Linked DNA regions of Homo sapiens: region 1 is linked to region 2. The links are contacts of gene promoters, found by promoter capture Hi-C in blood cells and fetal thymus (Javierre and others, 2016). All regions are on one chromosome and are shown on one strand. Each heading gives the region's core, a stretch centred on a gene start or on the middle of the fragment in contact. The rest is flanking DNA. Distances are from core to core; before and after follow the strand shown. Region 1 holds the start of PITHD1 (PITH domain containing 1). Region 2 overlaps PNRC2 (proline rich nuclear receptor coactivator 2).

Region 1 (4,734 bases), core at 738-3,237, 190 kb after region 2:
GAGGTATACACAACTTTGCTAACTAAATGCCACGCAAAGTCAGGTGGAGCAATTCCATGTCAACAAAACACATAAGATCATTACTGTATGAAATAGCAAGGAAAAATGTTGAAGCTAACCCCTAGAATCCATAAAGATCATATGAGATCTGCAGCTAGTTATTAAGAAAACTGCAGAGTCATCAACAAGTGACATTTACACAATGCTCTCTGAATGAATCATGTCATAGTAAGCACTTTGAAATATGAGACACGCTGTTGGGCCTAAAGATGCTTAATCTAAAAAAGTCATTAATTCAGGAAGAAATATATGTATTCCAATGCAGAATGAGAACAGGACCAAGATATTTTAAAAGGGGAAATATTAAACCCGGTAAGAAGAAAATGATACTATTCTGGAATAAAATGTTACCAGAAAAAGAGAATTAGGAGCTCCTTTGAGGGCCTAAGCCTTTGCCACTTACAGTCTCATCTCAGAGGGGTGTGAGTCATCATCCTCTCCCATTATAATGATGCCTTTGAGCTTGACATTGCCCGTAAATCTGCCAGAATGCAAAAGAGAAGGTTGTCAAACCTGAGTTTGAATACCTGTTTAGTTGTGTGACCCTGGGCAAGACCCTTCCCCTGTATGGGCTTCAGTTTACTCATCTGTCAACTTGTACTAGATAATTTCTAAGATCCTGTCTACCTCTAGCATTCTACAATTCTAAGAAATCTACCTCAATTTCTCAGTTATTGTTCTACAAATACATCTGTTTCCAGTCTGCACCAAGAAAGCTATGATGCTTTCCTCCTCAAACCCACCAAAGTAATTTATCCCATTTCTAGAAGCAAATGTGTGCTCTTGACACCAGTGAATGAATCCATCTGAGGCAACTGGGTACAGCCTATTTAGCCTGAGGTAGGCACCAAGGAGATACTTACGGAATATTAAACAGAAGCTCTTCATCTGCATCACTTTCAACAAACTGGAGGGGATGGGGAGGGGGGAGGAGAAAGCAACAAATATTTGCTGAGAGCCTACAATTTCAGGCATCTCCCACCCTGCTCTACAACTGGGGTGCAATGGGAAGAGTCACTCTCCCTTGGTTTTCCAAGACTTATTAACTTGAAGCTAACCAGTCTTATCCAGTGTCATAACAGCCACAGGCCACCCAACTGGAAGGTTCTTAACAAAAAGCCCATGAATGAATTTCCAGGGTCGAAGAGCCTTCTGAAGTGTGAACTGAAAGGCAGGTGTTTATGTGCATTTTTCTGAGAAGAAGGTCCACTGCTTTCAAACAGATAGCAAAGGGGCCTGCGACCCCACAATGTAAAGAACATTTGCTCTATATGGGAACCACCTTTCATCTCCCTAGGCTCATCTTCACCAGGTAATATGATGAGGCAGCCATTAGCACCAATGGTCCAACGGCCCTCACGACCATCCTCTCTAGCCCACACAGCCCTGGAATAGAGCGTTAGGCTGTGTAGCTTGACAAAACTGTCCCCGTTCCCTCTAGGCCTCAGTTTCCCTATATGCAAAATGGGGAGACAACGCTGCTCGCCTCCCAAAGAGCTGGCAGGAGACAGGCACGGAAAAGCGCTTGGCAACCAGGCTGTCGTTATTCTTAACATCAGAAATGAGTAGACCGACGGCCCGAGGCCCCACACGCACCCTGCCCCGCCCGCCCCAAGCCCCAGGCGGCCCACCTTGGAGCGGTCGGTCCGCTCCTCCCACGGCTTGAAGACGCCGCGGCCGCTGCCCTCGCGGCTCTCGTTAAGGCATTGCAGCCGCTCCAGGTCGATGCGCAGGTACAGGCCGTAGGCCAGGCCGCGCTGCTCGGGCGGCTCCTCCCGTTCGGCGGCGCAGCGGCAGCCACCCCCGCCGTGGCTGTGACCGTGCGACATGGCAACGCCGCCACCTGCGCGTCCTCTCGGCCCCACCGCCGCGCTCGCTCGGCTCGGCTCGCCTCAGACCAGCTCCGCGCCGTTCAGCTCCGGCAACTAAGCGCGCCGCGCCTGCCGCGTCGTAAAAAGCGCCGCTGCGCGGCGCATGCGCGTGGGGAGAAGGCGGGGGGGCGGGGGGGGTGGGGTCGAGCGGAACTGACGTAGGACGCGCGCCTCCCAGGTGCCAGAGTTCGTATATGACTCCAGTCCTGGCGCTGGATGCTGCTGCTGTTCCAGCTTCCTAGGTGTGGAAACTGAAGGACCAAGAGATTAAACAGGTGTGCTGAGTAAACTCACAGGCTGAGATTCGAATTATCCTCCCCCGACGAGGATGGAGCCTTCGCTGTCTTCCTTGATCGCCACGTTTCTTTGCGAGCCGATGAAGGAAAGCGTGAGGAATGATAAGGCCCTGGAGACTGGAGAACGCGAGCTTATCGCTGTCTCACATGCGCACGGCTTAGACGTTGAGAGCTCACAGGCCCACTTGCATAACCACTTTCTTGATAGCGGGGTTACAGCTTGAGAGCATGGGGCTTTGTGCACGGCCAGACCTAAAGACTACTCCTGGGTCTGCTACTGGCCATTGTGACACCTTAAGTCATTTCCCCTATTCTGAGACTCCGTTTCCCCGTCTGTAAGGTGGAAAGAATAGTATCTGTTTCATAGGATCACAGTGAGTATTAAATGAAATAATGCAATTAAAGAACTCAGCAGGCCGGGCGCGGTGGCTCACGCCTGTAATCCCAGCACTTTGGGAGGCCGAGGCGGGCGGATCACGAGGTCAAAAGATCGAGACCATCCTAGCCAACATGATGAAACCCCGTCTCTACTAAAAATACAAAAATTAGCTAGGCGTGGTGGCGCGAGCCTGTAGTCCCAGCTACTCGGGAGGCTGAAGCAGGAGAATCGCTTGAACCCGGGAGGCAGAGGTTGCAGTGAGCCGACATCGCGCCACTGCACTCCAGCCTGGCGACAGAGCAAGACTCTGTCTCAAAAAGAAAAAAAAAGAAAAAACTCAGCAAATGGCTGACACATGATGGGCATTCAGTAGCCGATGGTTATTACGGTCAAATCCAACCACAGCAACTTACTAGCTGCGTGGCCTTGGGCAAGTGACTTGATCTTCTGAGACTCAGTTTACCCCCTGTGAAGTGAAGGGATTGGACTAGATGATCTCTGCGTTTCCTCCCCCATGTGATATTTCAAAGTACTTTTTTTCGAACAGCTGGTTGTGGCCTGTCAATAGGTTTTAAAATCCGTTTATAGAGAATTGTGATCAACATTTAAAAAAAAAATAGAATACAAAAAAAAAAAAACCCAGAATGTATCACACATTTCAAGTCTCAATTGATGAAACTTTTGTTTCAGTTTTGAGTTTGTATTCAGACACAATATGATGTGTTTTTCATATTGTGGGTTGAGATCAAAATAATTAAAAGTCACTGTTTAGAGGTGAAATAATCTTGTTTTCAGGATAGAATGTTTTCCTACTCCCTGGTGGGGAAAAGACAGGATACAGAAAGAGAGTTATGGGATACCCTGGCTACCCTCTTCCCTTCACATCTGGCTCTGGAGTGCTCAGTGGGGCTGGTGAAGTATAGACCAAAATATCCATTTTTTCAAGTTCCATTCAGAAATATTTTCTGGGCCACATGCAGTGCCTCATGCCTGTAATCTCAGCACTTTTGGGAGGCCAAGGTGGGAGGATCACTTGAGCCCAGGAGTTTGAGACTAGCCTGGGCAACATAGGGAGACCCCATCTTTACAAAAATAATTAAAAATATTAGCCCAGCATGGTGGCTCATGCCTGTGGTCCCAGCTATTTGGGAGGCTGAAGTGGAAGGATCTCCTGAGCCTGGGAGGGTGAGGCTGTAGTGAGCTGTAATCATACCACTGCACTCCAACCTGGGTGTCAGAGCAAGACTGTCTCAAAAAAATAAAAACAAGAAAAATATTTTGATGTCCTATTTTAGTTACTTGTGCAATAAGCAAGCTTGGTTCTGTTTCAAAATAGCTCAGTGCCGTGAATTATTCCTGCTTTTAGGTCACAGTTTCAGGTAAGGGACCTGGAATGTGGCAAACAGTAAATGTTTACTTGACTGATATACTTGGTAGCCTTTCTTTGGTAAGAGTGTCCTTTTGAAGAACCAACTCAGGCCTTACCCCGGAGATCTACTCATTTTGGCTTTTTCCTGTTGCCTTCATTAATGATTTATTTGAGCACTGTGTGCTAAGCACATTATGTAGTTCATCTCAATTAATTGTCACATGAACTTTAAGAGCTAGGTACAGCCAGGTGTGGTGGCTCACACCTGTAACACTTTGGGAGGCCGAGGCGGGTAGATCACTTGAGGTCAGGAGTTTGAGACCAGCCTGGCCAGCATGGTGAAACCCCGTCTCTACTAAAAATAGAAAAATTAGCCAGGCATCGTAGCGTGTGCCTGTAATCCCAGCTACTCGGGAGGCTGAGGCAGGAGAATCGCTTGAACCCAGGAGGCAGAGGTTGCAGTGAGCCGAGATTGTGCCACTGCACTCCAGCCTGAGCGACAGAGCGAGACTCCATCTCAAAAAAAAAAAAAAGAGAGCTAGGTGCTATTACCTACTGTTATCTCCAATTTGAAGATGAGGAAAACTGAGGCTGAAAGAGGCAAACTAACTTGTCTGAGACTAGGTAAAGTTAGGAGGTAACCAGGCTTTGAACACATCCTGTAGTGTTCTTGTAACACATCAGTAGTTTCCTGGTTAGGGTGGGGAGGTTGAGGCGGGAGGTGCACACAAAGTAAATATGCTGTATCAATTAGCTTAT
Region 2 (4,718 bases), core at 1,540-4,039:
AAATGTCTACTGAGCACAATCTAGTGAATCATTACAGTATGGCCTCATTGTTTTGTTTGAGGTGTGTTATTCATAACAATATTTTACACCATTCGTATCAATGTAATTATAGAACACAATATACGATCAAGGATAAGTAATTGTGTGGTTATCTGCCATTTAAAAGTATCCAGTATTTGATCACATTATTATAAATAATGAAAAAATGATTTAATCTGTAATAAACTGGTTTATTGTGCAGTGACTGTAATATACTAGAGTTATAATAAATTGTTTACTCTGCCTCACCAAACACATGCTAGGATATAACCCCCAAAATAAGTATTTAACTTTGCATTAGGTATAAAGGAGACTGGGTGCTATAATTAGATTATTTTGAGGCAGACAGAGAGCTGTTATCCTAACTGATTTAGTATGTTCTGTAATTGAGAAAATGTTCACCAAATTATACTTTTTAGTGATTTACATGTACATTTTATAGGGGACATGTTCTGTGTATAGCGAATAAATAACTTTTATAGTATCACAAAATGTTTTGGATTCCTTAGTTTCTTATTAGGATATGATGTTTCTTTACCTATACATTGATTTCATCACATTTGATTTTTGTCATCTTTTTTGCCACATACTTAAAATTTTCCATATAAAATTAACTAAAAATCTGGAAGTGGAATTTAAGCTTTTAATTTGTAGCAATTTTGAAAATATAGCAGAGGTATATTTTCAAGGGAGGTGTGAAATGGAGGTATTATTGTTTGTATTTTATTTTAGAAATTTTGTTTGAACTTGCCCAAGATCACACAGCAAGTGTCAGATCCTAGGTTACAGCCCATAATTTTTCACTTGTTTCATCTTTTGTTACCATGTTTGTTGTTTAATCCAATGGGGAAGTGTTTTTATAGCTTTATTTTCATGGAGATAGTAACATTGATATAATGGGATCTAGAATTTACTTAGAGTCAAAGTGACTAGATTTAATTACAAAAAGTATTTTGTTGTATACCGTTATACACTCATTAACATAGGGGTTCTTATGGACAGAGGTTCTATGTATTTTTAAAAGAATATGTAGAGGCTATAGACTTTTTTGCCCTCTACCTCCCTTCTCCATTTCCTTTTGAAGTTAAGACATTTAAGGGGGAGAATTAAGGTGCATATTGAGTTGGGGTTTTGTTTAAAAAAAATTAGGTAAATACATATATAACTACAATAACAACAGTTGGTAGTTCTCTAAAATATTTAATTATGGTAAATCAGAAAAGGCCCTTTAATTTTTGCATCTGTTGAATGAATTGCTTTAGGATCTCTTCTGTGGTTGTTTCTCTCTATACTGAATGCTGTCAATATTATTGAGCACTTACTGTGCCGAACCATGTGCTTTTCAAATATTTCTATTTAATCCTAAAAACACTCCTGGGAAATGGGTATTATTCCCATTTTACAGATGAGAAAATTGTCCTTTGTAGAATACCCATCATGTGATAGCTTCTTGCATATTATGCTATTCATTTCTCACAACCTTACAAGGTAAATGGATAATGTTCCTGGATGAGAGATTAAACGTACTCGAAGATCTTATGGTTGTGTGGCTCAGAGACTCTAAGCATGGCTTTCCAAATCTCATTCTCTTGTAGAGATTTTCCATTGTATTGCATTTTGACCATGTTCCTGTTTACAAAACCTAAGATTATATTCTGAAGTATCTGTGACTTGAGTGATAGCTCAGGAATAATCTGAGGGCATTCTATTAGGAAGGAGGACTAGCAAAGCCTATAGTTAGCCTATCCTAGGCATGAACTATTCTCATTTTAGATAGGATGACTTGATAAATAGGATGAAGTGAGCAACCTGTTTGTCTTCGGTTATTGCTATCTACAAGACATTCTGCTAGTCACTGTGGAAAAGTTTCCTTCTCTTGGGTTTTTTCCTCTTCCCCTTCCTCTTAACAGTGTTGGTTATCTTTATTATGTTTCTGTGTATTTGTAACAGCTGTTTCACCCTTGTATTGCATAATGGGGATTTTTCTTGGAATAAAAAGTGAGGCATGTAAATTCATTGAGAACTAACCGTAGTTTGTAAAGAAGTAAAAGGCCTTTGTATCTAGTTTTTTGCAGATCACATTTCTTTGAATGCTGGAAAGTGAAATAAACTGGTCTAGGAGCCAAAAATAAATCTTGGGTTTTTTTAAGATTTTGCTCTTAGATTTGTAACCACCTGGGTACAACTTTTTCCTAATTTGTGTAAGAGGTTTTAGAGATGCACTCTGTCCCTCTTGCTTTACAAATTGCCTACAAGAATGCAACCAAAATACTAGAAACTGAAACTTACACAAAACCTTTCAGGTTTTTTCCTGTGTTGTAGTTCTAGGGAAGAGGATAGTTTATTAGTATTTATTTTAAGCTTAAGGATAGGTTTTGGACCTGGATTCCATCATAGTATAACTGCCATCGAAAAGAAGACAAATTGAAATTACAGCATTTACCTAAGGTTCACAGTATGGCTGACTTCAGCAGCCTTACATGGTAAGTTCTCTGTACCAGCTATTTTTGGTTCTCGCAATTGCATCGACTTGGGAAATTCCTATCACCATTCTCTATATAGGCTAACCAAAACTTTTATCAGTACCTTTCCTAAAGTATGAAGTTAGGTAATCTTCCACTCCCACTTCCATTTACTCATTTTGCTTGAGTCAAACCAAAAATCTAGTGTATTACTAGATTAGTCACTAAAAATCTAGTGTATTCAATATATACACTAGATTCAATATATAGCTTAAAAACTAACAGACACCTAGGCTGAGATTTGTCCAATACATGAAGTTCAATTCTGCAATCCTTGGCATTGTTCACAGAAATTACCCTGGAAACAAAATGAACACCCAAATGCTGGTTCTGCCTTAACTCCAAATTGTTAACTAGTTTGCATGAAAATAATACAGCTTTGCCATGGGACTAGTTGTAGCATTTTAAGGATTACTCAAACTAGTTTTAAGATGCCCTATCATTTGGAATCTGTATCAGAAAGGTGTGGTTGTGATGCTTTTCTTCTGAGGGGTCCCCTTATATACTTTTCATTTGTCAACATACTTAAAACACAAGGGTTCTTGTCAACTTGATAAATTTGCTTATAATTTTTTTTCTATGAACCTAGATCATGGAATTAACTTTCAAAAGCTTTGCGATGTTTTCCATGTGTGGCCTTTTTTTTGCTTTTTAATTAACACTACTGGGAGAGAGAAATCCTAAGTAGTTGCTTAACTGCATAGCTGTCAAATCCTAGTATCTTCTGTATCAGTCAGCAAACTAGTTGCCCCTTTTCAAGCCAACAGTCCTATCACATTTTAGTTGTGACCTTTTTTATATATACGTATATATATATGATCAGAAATGTAGTGGTTCATAGTTCTGGAGTCTGAGAAATCCAAGAGTTTGGAATATTGTGAGTGTATTATGAGCTTCAAGTCAGTGACAAGTAAAACACATTTTTAAAAAGAATATTAAGCAATCAAAACCATTTTTAAAATAAAACCAAGCCAATGGGGAAAAATTTTATTTAATTTTATGCTTCACATTCATATCATGTACATTAAGTACTACATAAACTTGTCTTTAGGCTATCAATATTTAACTTGGGCAGTACTTCATCTTGATTTATTTGGAGAAATACAGCTTAGGCATCTGCTTACCTGCTTAGGCATCAAGAGGTGCCAAATTAGAAAATAGGGCATTAACAATCAAAATTTTTAAGCTGACCCACATACTTGCTACTGGTTTCGCTTATGTTTAAGCATTTAAAGTTGGCAAAACATGTTATCAATGTATTATGCAAGAGTTTACATCTTTTGCATAAGTGGTCCATTGGGTTGCACCTACCCCTTGACCAAACAAAAACAAAACATCACTGGCACCATACTCGAAACTACCTGTATCCTAGGTTATAAGATTGTGAAAGCCAACAATCTATAAGGTTGGAGGGACTCTAGTTAATCTTTGGGCTTAGAGGAGGAAAAAAAGATAGTCCCATACTGCATTTCACATCTCTTAAAAATAGTTTTAGCAGCTTAAACCTTTTTAGTTATAAAACTTATTACACTAGGGTTTACTTTGAAATATAGTTTACAACCAAATCAAGTATAACATACATACACTGGCACTTTAGCACAAGGGCAAACTTTAAAAACAAGTTATTTTGGACCTTTAAAATTAGGCCATATTATAAAAAACAGTCCACGGTCTTACATTCAGCAAATTCATACTAAAATACTCCATTTTTGTAAGATAAAGGCCAAGAAAACTTTACATATGCTACAAGTTTATTACAGATATTTACATGGCTCTTTCTCCCCTAGGTACTTAAAATTTTCACATTATCCAACTCCCCAAAGCAAGCTTTGCAGGAATGATGAGGCCAGAGCACTATTAGAATAGCTTGTGCAGTGCTGTAATACAAAAATGTATTTTGAAAGCTATTGAGTGACCATTAAATACTGTTTCTATAAAAAATGGTTTTGGTGTATTTGTTGACAGACACTTAATCCACTACATTTAATAAACAGGGCCATTGGGGTGTACTATGTCTCATTCTAATGAGCTCCAAATGCCCTTTCCACCCACTGTACAATTCACTAAAATGCAATTATTACGAAAAATTCACATTTTCTTTCAGCAGTGCATCAGGTTAGCATATTACTGGTTTGGGTGTTTCTAATATACTAAACC

What was found. The method cuts DNA at HindIII sites, captures the fragments that hold promoters and counts their contacts. A CHiCAGO score of 5 or more calls a contact.
Region 1: the fragment with the promoter of PITHD1 here is called in contact with a fragment that was not itself captured in region 2 in 2 of 17 cell types (total B cells and erythroblasts); the score reaches 5.5 in total B cells.

What each region holds. Positions count from the first base shown.
Region 1 is chr1:23,775,671-23,780,404 of GRCh38, reverse strand. It overlaps PITHD1 (PITH domain containing 1), which reads right to left and starts at 1,987. Exons shown (of 6, transcript NM_020362.5): 1 at 1,692-1,987; 2 at 924-967; 3 at 464-541. The coding sequence starts at 1,889. It overlaps ELOA-AS1 (ELOA antisense RNA 1), which reads left to right and starts at 2,108. Exons shown (of 4, transcript NR_038280.1): 1 at 2,108-2,206. RefSeq lists enhancers at 1-1,057, 2,311-3,263 and silencers at 1,608-1,657, 1,748-2,057. The HindIII fragment of the contact is 11,008 bases long and covers 1-3,923 here.
Region 2 is chr1:23,962,258-23,966,975 of GRCh38, reverse strand. It overlaps PNRC2 (proline rich nuclear receptor coactivator 2), which reads right to left. Exons shown (of 3, transcript NM_017761.4): 3 at 3,514-4,718. It overlaps SRSF10 (serine and arginine rich splicing factor 10), which reads left to right. Exons shown (of 6, transcript NM_054016.4): 6 at 1-2,629. Among named protein-coding and RNA genes, the nearest start is that of PNRC2, 4.8 kb to the right of the region's middle. The HindIII fragment of the contact is 773 bases long and covers 2,403-3,175 here.